3 separate regions of the Homo sapiens genome follow, and all the other regions are linked to region 2. The links are contacts of gene promoters, found by promoter capture Hi-C in blood cells and fetal thymus (Javierre and others, 2016). All regions are on one chromosome and are shown on one strand. Each heading gives the region's core, a stretch centred on a gene start or on the middle of the fragment in contact. The rest is flanking DNA. Distances are from core to core; before and after follow the strand shown.

Region 1 (3,101 bases), core at 395-2,894, 520 kb after region 2:
CCATATTGCCCAGGCTGGCCTCCAACTCCTAGGCTCAAGGATCTGCCCATCTCAGCCTATCAAAGTGTTAGTATTACAGGCTTGAGCCACAGCAGCTGGCCCTTAGTAACTTCTGAACAGAATTTCTCTCCTCTTTGGGCCAGTGAAGAAGAGAATTCAGACTCAGCATTCCGCCTCCCCAGACATACCTTTTAAAAACACACACACATCCTTAAGGTTTTTTTTTTAGCTTCTAAGGGTCTGTATTGCCAGTAACAACAGAGAAGGGGGCAGGGACTGAAAAGGCAAAAAGGCTCCACCCAGCACTCCCCTCTTTTGCTATTTCATTTAGATATTACAGAGAAGGAAGGAAGACATTTTCCCCACCCCTGAGTTTTCTTTGGGACTATCTGGGACAGAAGATCTCTCTGCAGCTCTTGTAGACCTGAGCATTTCATTTCTAGAGCTGAGATGTCAGGAGAGGAGTCTGGGATAAATGTGAGGAAATGGGATGAATGTTGCCAAGACTAATATTAGGGGTGGGTGGGGACTGAGAACAGCTGTAAGGCAATGTTCTTCCCTACCTTAGCCTCCAGAGCTCATGCTGGACCAGCTGGAGGATGTGAAAATCCAGAGGAGGTGAGGATCTGGGCCAAAGAAAGGGCAAGAAAGAAGGGAGATCTCAAGTCAAGCAATTGGAAGGAAAGGGAGGTTCCCATAGTGGACTCTGGGGCAGGAGAGATGGAAGGGTTGGGCATTTGGGCTCTCACACGTGTGTGGGGGTGGGGAGTATGGGGGTGCAGTTAAGGGACCTAGGTAACTGAGCAAAATTGGGCCTGTAAGGCCAATTGCAAAGCTCGCTTCTGCATGTAATGTGTGTACCATCTGTCTCTCCATGCCACTAGGAGCACTAATAAATGTTACATGTAGAAACTTTTGCACTAGCTTGTACATTAAAATTCCATATGCCAATTGACTGGACTACATGAGCGCATCTGTCAAAAACAGGTCTCTTAGGCCCAATTTAGGACATTCCAAAGCAGCTTTATAACTGCTTCAGCCTCCAAATGGTATGAATTAACTCTCATAAGCCAAGTCAATTCTCACTGAGTAAAGGATTCGGCCAAATGTCCAAAAAATTCAAGTCAAAAACACTCTCTTCCCTTTATTATAGAGAATATCAGTAGTAAGATCTTTTTTCCCCCAAAATTGTGCTGCTCATTGACTCCGTGTTTGATGTCATACTGTTAACATAAGTTAATATGGTCAAAATGATAAAATGCTTTATTGTATTATGGGCATGAAAAAGACCATATTTTGCATTTTTACAAAATTCTGTTTTTCCAGTTATATTTACAATTTACAGTGTATGCTGATATATATTAAGTGGTTAAATCTCAGGTGCCAAGTGTATTTTATTTTGAAAAAGTAAATATGTATAACTCCCAAGACAACCTGTTTAGACCCATTCTCTCCCGGCAATGGAAGATGCATAAAGAAGAATATAATCCTCCCTTTTAAGGTAAAGCTTAGATTTACACTTCACATGCCCAAACTCAGCACATATGTTACCTCTAGGAACTGGAAATTTTGCTTCTTTTCCTCATACTGATTTTTTTGTTTCTGTTCTTATTAACTTTTATGAAAATATCTTTAGAAAAGCAAGTATAAATACATGAATGAATAAATATATTGGATGATAGAATCAGAATCTTTAAATATCTCAACATGACAGAATAATGGGGAGATTCTAATAATGAAATGTAACAAGTATGAATGCCAGTCACACCTATGTTCCAGGAACAATTCATCATAACAGCAGGATATGTAAGGAAAGGCTTAGGGATTTCAGTTCACTATGCATAGACCTTTTTTTTTTTCTTTTTGAGACAGGGTCTTGCTCTATTACCCAGGCTGGAGTGCAGTGGTGCAATCATGGCTCACTCCCAGCCTTGATCTCTCAAGCTCAAGCACTCTTCCCACCTCAGCCTCCCTAGTAGCTGGGACTACAGCCATGCACCACCAAATCTGGATAATTTTTAAATTTTTTGTAGAGAAGGGGTCTCACTGTGTTGCCCAGGTTGATCATGAACTCCTGGCTTCAAGTGATCCTCTGGCCTCAGCCTCCCAAAGTGCTAGGATTACAGGTGAGAGCCACCACACCTGGCCCACTACTAACAGACTTTAGAGAGCCATTCAGGCTACTCCTCACCCCATGCAATCTTAGACTGTGTTACTAGATAAATGCTGTCTAAAAAAGGGGAAGAGATAACCTTTTTCTCCACTTTGTGTCAGAATACTATATTCAAATCTGGACACCTCATTTCAACAACAGATTGCAGGGATCCAAACAAAGAAACCAGCTTGGTGATCAAAAGAGTGCCTGCCCCTCAAGGACTCCCAACTCAGTGGGGTTGGTATTGACATAGCAGATACACAAAATGTATTCTAGATTGGTACCAAAACTATGGTGAGTAGATGGCTGTGACTGGGGGACTTCTCAATTGATTGCTCAGTCCATTAGAGGTGGCCTTTTTGTGCCTATTGGCTGTTATCGGCTGCCTTGAGTATATTGTCTATATTTGATCCTCAGTATTTTTGTGTGTGACTTGAGCTTTGAGAATTAAATTAAAATGATATATATTTTACTATTTAATCCTACAAAAGTTATTCAACTATCAATAAATATGTCAAGTGCTGAAAAGAAAAAATATCAACAATATCGGAATAAATAATGACTGTCTAGTTATTTTCTCAGCTGGGCCTAGTGGCTCATGCCTGTAATCTCAACACTTTGGGAGGCCAAAGCACAAGGATTGCTTGAGGCCAGGAATTCAAGACCAGCATACGCAACATAGCGAGACCCCCAACTCTACAAAAAATAGAAAAATTGGCCAGGTGTGGTGGTTCAAGCCTGTATTCCTAGCTGCTTGGGAGGCTGAGGCAAGAAGATCACTTGAGCCCAGGAGTTTGAGGCTGTAGTGAGCTATGATTATACCACTACACTCGAGCTACTCTGCCTCTTAAAAAAAAAAAAGTTATTTTTTCATATGAAGCAAAAGTTAAACATTCATGTTTAGAAAATCAGTTATTTTCAACTGTTGCTTTTGCTAGAAAAGTAC
Region 2 (3,485 bases), core at 522-3,021:
GACTCCAAAGCAGTCTCTGAAATGGGCAGCCATGCTATGTACAAATTTTCACTGCTTTTGGAGTTCACCGTTTGTTTTGAGGACAGAAGACAAAAGATAGGAAGAAGAGTTTTCCTGGGGCCTGAATAGTGTTCTTCACTGGGAGAGGGAATTTATGGTTATGAGCCAGTGTTCAGTATCAGATCACAAGCGGCAGGGGCACCTATTTTTTTTTAAATTAATGTGTGTGTGTGATATGTAAGTTCCTTTAAAGCATGGAGTCCAGGATAGAAGTCTCTCTTGCCCAGGTCTAAGGGTGCGGGGGGAAGGGGGGGGGCGCGGCGGTGGGAGGGAGTACTTTAGTGATACTAGGAATTTAATGCCAAATGTATTTGCTGTGTGACCTAGATGGCTGAATTTTTTAAAAAGTTCTTCAGCATCGAGAAAAATCCAGTTAGACCGATAGCTTAGAGAGCTGTAGCTTATTTCTAAATTTGACTTTCCCTAAAACTAAGTGTAAATGTCAGTGATATGAGGACTTTTTAAAGAAACAAAATAAAGAAACAAGATACACAAAAATAGAGCAACTATGGCCAATCTTGTTTCATCCCTTTTCATCTATGACCTTACTCATACCCCTATCCATAATAAATGACTTTCAGCAAATCCTAGATGTTCTGCATCCTATATCTTTCTAACAGATATTCTTAAAAAGTATGACCACAATACCATTATCCAATTATTCCTTGTTCAACAAGCACTTACAATTTCATCCATGTGAAAGGCACCTCATGATTTTTACTTGAGGATGAAGATAATTTCTCATGAATTCTCATTGTTTTAAGTCACCTGAAGAGGTGTGATATGCTACAATAAATCTATTTGTAGGGCTTGGCTTCAAGAACTGAAGATTCTGGACCTAGCTGATCTGGTGACAGTGAACTTGAGACCTCTAATAGCGTTTAACTATTTTTTTTTAACTTTTGGAAAGCAAGGTGTAGGAAGGGGATTTAGTTTTTCCATTAGGTCGTGGCATGTTAAGACTTGTTTCTTTTTCCAAAATGTTCAAGTTGCTGAAGAGAACTATGGACTATGGGTCAGGAAGTCCGTCGGTTTCGGGTCACATTCCGCTCCCGCAGGCCTGCGGGCCGCCCCAGCTGGTTTGTTCCCGGCGTGTTAGAGGTCAGAGGCCGAGGCCGCACTCAGTGCCTGGGTCTCGCGCAGCTCCAGGGCTCTCAGGCGACACTGGGCGTTTCCTTTCCGGCTTCGGAAAGTTTTGTTTTGGTTCAAGGAAAGGCGCCCTGTTGACCAAAGGCTTCTCAGTCTCCTCCGGGTGGCCAGCGGCCAAGTTTCCTCCAGCCCAGCGAGTCCAGACTATAGTCCGTTCGAGATCCTCGAAGGCCGGGGAAGCGAGTCTTGTGAGGAGAGAAAGCGAGTGGGCAGCCAGCCTGCCGACTCCACTGCCGCTGGCTGGCCCTTCTCTTCCCTCTGTCCCTGGGCCAGTGCCCGTCGCACCACAAACAGTGCGAGCAGTCTCCCCGGTGACTCCTCAAGGACCCAGTTCTCCACCATTCCTAAGAGAACACTCAACCCAGCCGCGCCCGGGATGCAGAGAGATCTACCAACACCCGAGAATGGGGACAGGGCGCATGCGCACACCGTGGCCGTGGCGTCTAAGTGCTCGCCCAGCTGCGGCAGCCGCTAGGTGGCGCATGCGCCCTGGAAGGTGCGGGCCGGTCTCTGGGAAGAAGGCGGCGGCGGCGAAAGGCGGGGGTGCTGTGGGGGCCGGGCCGTGTTTACACAGCGGCGGGCGGGCGCGGACGCGGAACCCGGCGCGGCGGCGGCACGATGGTCATGGCGTATTTCGTCGAGAATTTTTGGGTAAGCTTAGGATGTTGGAAGTCGTGTGTTTCGAAGTCCAAGGCTTTTGGCGCCTGAGCTTGGCCTGCGTGCGCTTCGGGCGGCGGCGGCGGCCCCTCCGGCAGGGCGAGCGTCCTCCTGCCGCGTCCCGCCTGGGTGAGGTCCGGCGGGCGACCGGTCGCCAGCCTATAGGGACTCCCGGGCTCGCAGCCCTATGGGGACGGGGGCTGTCACCGCGGCCCGGGGGCCCGCAGCGGGGCCGCCGGCCACCGGGGCTGGGACAAAGCGCCGGATGGGGCGGGAGACGGGACCCAGCCCCACCGGAGGCTCCCGGTGCCGCGCTCCGCGCGGGGCGTGCGCGGCAGCTCGGACGCGAAGGACGGGCCCGCGGCACAGCCGCCTCCCGCTGCGCGCTGGCTGGGAGCGCCGGGCGGTGGGGTTTTGCCTCCTGCCCTCACCGCGGGCCCCCCATCTGAGCGATCCCTTTTACCTCTGACGGTTTCCACACCAAATCCAGTGCGGGGTTGGGCTGGACTAGCACTTCCTCTCAGCCTCGCAGCTCGGCTCGTGGGTTTGCGCCCAGGACTTTGCCTCTGGGCCTGTTCACAAAGCGTTTAAAAGTTGGATTTAATGTAACTGGACTCCTTGGGCTTAAATGCATGGAGACCTCCCCCTACTCTGTGCTCCTTCCCCTTCCTCATTCTTTCCACCCCTTGTCTTAGCTCAGTATTAGATTCTTCTTTGAGAATTTCTCCGGCTCCCGGTGGAGTATTTTTCTGCAGTTATTGTTTTTTTTTTTGTAATGGGAAGTACAGTTCAGCCATGTACAGGAAAGGAACGTGTTTACTCAGGTATCTTTCGTGAATCCCATTTTATGCCCTGACAGTTGCAAGTACTGCAGGTCCATTTTCGTTGAGATTTAGACATATTTAAAGGGGTAATCTTTTAGCTAGTAAGGAATGTATGTTAAATTCTTAATTCTAAGTGCCTCAAGCATGGTCTTGGTTAGTAATCAGATCAGTTCATAGTTATTTATTTGTCTTGAATGTACCTTGTTTTCCACAAAGAACGTATATACTAGACCTTAGGTGTTTTGTTTTTTAAACAGCTTTATTGAGTTCACATTTCCGTACCAATACACTCATTTAAAGTGTAGTACAATTCAGAGGTTTTTTCATATGTTCATAGAGTTGTGTAAACATCACCATATCAGTTTTACAACAATTTCGTTATCCCAGAAAGAATCCCTAGACCCATTAGCAGTCACTCCCCATTTTCCCCCTGCCCCAGGCCTAGGCAACTAATGTATTTTCTGCCTCTCTGCATTTGTCTAGTCTGGACATATCCTATAAATGGGGCCATGGTGACCAGTTTCTTTCACTTAGCATAATGTTCTCAAAGTTTATCCATGATGTAGCATGTATCACTACTAATTCCTTTTTATGGTCAAATAATATTCCATTCCACATTTTATTAATATTTATCCAATCAGTGATGGACATCTGGTTGTTCCCACTTTTGGGTTATGAATAATGCTGCATGAACATTTTTGTACAAGTTTTTGTGTGAACATATGTTTTCATTTCTTTTGGGAATGGGATTCCTGGGTCAAATCGTAGCTCTATGTTTAACATTTTGAGGAACTG
Region 3 (3,064 bases), core at 106-2,605, 580 kb after region 2:
GGAGCTTGGGTCTTCATTCTGAAGGCTCTTGTATATACACATTAAATAAATTCGTATGCCTTGTCTCCTATTAATCTGCCTCATGTCAGTAATTTTTTCAGTGAACATTTAGGGAGTCAAGGGCCTTGGCCCCCACACTCTTCTCTCTCCCCAAGCCCACAGGCAGTCATGAAGAGGCACAAGCCTTCTATTCTTGGCTTCTGGACAGTGTGGTGACTCAACCCATTTGCTCCATGCTGTCAACTGAAGAATGATGAAGTCCCTACATGTGGAAAGGAGAGCTTTATTTCTTGTAAAGGGTTGCAGCCTGCAGGGTGGCCATTCTGACAGGCTGGGAAGCATAGCCTTTGGCCAGAAGCCAGAAACGGACACTTTGAGGGAGGGGCAAAGGGAATAGGAATTCATGCTGAGCAAGGTGGTCAAATATACATATTCAAGGAGGAGTCATGGATAGTTATGAAAGAAAAGATATGTGCATATGCAATGGCGCTTCATGCCTCTCCATGGGACTCACGTTCAAACAATATCGGCATTAGTATGATCTGAGGGTGTAGTTTTCAGCCCTCTGATGTCAAAAGGTGTGACAGAGGACACAAAAACCCTCACTGTGCATTTCCATAGACTGGCCAGAACCACTGGTCAGTGGTCACTTATCAGGCAAAAAAGGAGGGGCAGTGTCAGGCTGTTGGTGGATATCCATGGTGGGGTCTTTTGAAAGGGCTGGTTTCTGTTCAGCCCTTGTGGAGGAAAGCCCAATGGCAGGCAGTGAGGGAGGGAGGGTGCATAACGAGGTATGTCTGTCCTTCCATCCCATCATTGTTGGGAACTCAGGCTCAAGGTTTCTCTGGGGTCTCCTTGGCCAAGAGGAGGTCTGTTCCATCAGCTGGGGGGCTTAGGATTTCATTTCTATTTTTCAGTGCTGTTCCATGATGAAAATGGAACCCTGGGGAGCCAGCACTTCTCTTGCTTGCACCATTACGATAAATGAATAAAGCCATGACTCTCAGTGCGGCTTGTTGTTCTAATTGACTAAACTGATTGCTCAACACCTCACATAGTCATTAAATAAATTCTGAGTATGTTCTTGGATGTCAGGGACCCAGATTATGGGTTCAGTTTAATATAAGGATTTTCTCAGTGAACAGAAAAAGAGGAATGGGGACTCCTATTATACAAAGATTGTATCCTCTTCTTGGATTGAGATGGTTAAACAACTTGGTAGAATAGTTACAAGCTGAGAGCTTAGAGAAAAGCTCTGTGCCTGGAACTCTCTGACTCTGGAAAAACCACAGTTGGAGGATGAAAATAATCAGAAACTCAGCAAAATGAAGGCAGCTTAAAAGACAAGAGCAAATCATTGTCTTTTAGTCAAAAGACTTCCCATAAACCATCGAGACAGAGAAAGTGAAGGTGATAGACACTCTGAGAAGGCTGAGGGCAGATGTTTTTCCTCAGGAGGAGGGTTGAGGTTTTAGCTATTGAAAGGGAAAAAGACATGTAGCAGATTTAATTATTACAAGGTCAGGGCAGTGATGGGCACAGAGATTTATGGCAAATTGAAATGACTTCCTCATCCTGGAAAGAAATTGAAGCACCTTCTTAACACTGTAAATGGGAGACAGTAATGAGCTCGGAGCCTCTCTTTGAAGATCGTGGCAACCATTCAAGGAGAGCTACACCAATGGATAAGAGAAAGGGGAAATGGCCACTTTTTTCTTAAACTGGGGCTTTGAGATTCATTTTAAGTATTGTAGAAGACAGAGAAGGACTTTAGTAGGCAGAATAATAGGCCCCCAGAGATCAAAGATATCCACATCCTAATTCCCAGGACCTGTGACTTTGTTAGGTTACATGGCAGAGAGGATTTAAGGTTGCTAATCAGTCAACCGTAAAATAGGAAGACTATCCTAGATTATCTGAGTGAGGCCAGTGTAAGCACAACAGAATTTTTTTTTTTTTTTTTTGAGACAGAGTCTCACTCCTGTTGCCCAGGCTGGAGTACAATGGCACGGTCTCGGCTCACCGCAATCTCCACCTCCTGGGTTCAAGCGATTCTCCTGCCTCAGCCTCCCAAGTAGCTGGGATTACAGGCTTGCGCCACCACGCCTGGCTAATTTTGTATTTTTAGTAGAGACAGGGTTTCTCCATGTTGGTCAGGCTGGTCTTGAACTCCTGACCTCAGGTGATCCGCCCACCTCGGCCTCCCAAAGTGCCGGGATTACAAGTGTGAGCCATCGCTCCCGGCCGCACAACCACTCTTAAAAGTCAAAGAAGGAGGCAGAAGAGAGAATCAGAGGGAGCTAAGATGACAGAAGTGGGGCCAGAGTGATGCGGCATTGCTGGCTTTACAGACCGAGAAGAGGCTGAGAGCCCGGGGCTGTGGCAGCCTCTAGACACTGGAAAGGGTGAGGAAGCGGATTCTCCCCTAAGCCTTTCAGAAAGGGAGACACACAGACCTGCCGACACCTTGATCTTAGCAAAGAGGGATTCTCATTGGACTTCTACAGAATTCTAAGAAAACAAATTTGTGTGTTTTAAGCCACTAAATTTGAGATAATTTGCAGAGGCAAGAATAGGAAACTACTGAGAGATTAAAGGGTGATACATGTGTACTGCTGACTCCACTCTCCACCCTGGAAGAGGTTTGTCCCACAAGCTAACAGCTAAAATGTTTGCATTATAATTGTCATTGCCATCCATAAGAGTGAACATGGCTAGGTGCGGTGGCTCGTGCCTGTAATCCTAGCACTTTGAGAGGTCAAGGCAGGAGGATTTAAGTCTAGGAATTTGAGACCAGCCTGGGCAACATAGTGACACCCTGTCTCTAAAAAAAATTTTTTTAAATTAATTAGCTGGATATGATGGTGCGTGCCTGTAACTCCTGACCTCAGGTGATCCACCCGCCTCGGCCTCCCAAAGTGTTGGGATTACAGGCGTGAGCCACCGTGCCCGGCCTACTATTGCTGGATCCTAACAGATGTCAATGATTTTTCACATTTCGTACTACATCACGACTGCCACCTGGCGGACAGTTGTTGTACGACAGCATTGACTGCATCCTGCT

The links. Contacts are between HindIII fragments. The CHiCAGO score rates a contact against its expected background, and 5 or more counts as called.
Region 1: a contact is called between the fragment with the promoter of LINC01386 here and the fragment with the promoter of FCHO2 in region 2, in 2 of 17 cell types (naive CD4 T cells and neutrophils). The highest score is 5.3, in naive CD4 T cells.
Region 3: a fragment that was not itself captured here is called in contact with the fragment with the promoter of FCHO2 in region 2 in 1 of 17 cell types (neutrophils); the score reaches 5.2 in neutrophils.

What each region holds. Positions count from the first base shown.
Region 1 is chr5:73,471,322-73,474,422 of GRCh38, forward strand. It overlaps LINC01386 (long intergenic non-protein coding RNA 1386), which reads right to left and starts at 1,645. Exons shown (of 5, transcript NR_126410.1): 1 at 1,552-1,645; 2 at 564-626. The HindIII fragment of the contact is 6,957 bases long and covers 1,506-3,101 here.
Region 2 is chr5:72,954,270-72,957,754 of GRCh38, forward strand. FCHO2 (FCH and mu domain containing endocytic adaptor 2) reads left to right here and starts at 1,772. Exons shown (of 26, transcript NM_138782.3): 1 at 1,772-1,860. The coding sequence starts at 1,828. FCHO2-DT (FCHO2 divergent transcript) reads right to left here and starts at 1,615. Exons shown (of 2, transcript NR_186392.1): 1 at 745-1,615. RefSeq lists a silencer at 1,665-2,364. The HindIII fragment of the contact is 4,273 bases long and covers 1-1,863 here.
Region 3 is chr5:73,533,973-73,537,036 of GRCh38, forward strand. No RefSeq gene overlaps it. Among named protein-coding and RNA genes, the nearest start is that of ANKRA2, 30 kb to the right of the region's middle. The HindIII fragment of the contact is 7,488 bases long and covers 1-3,064 here.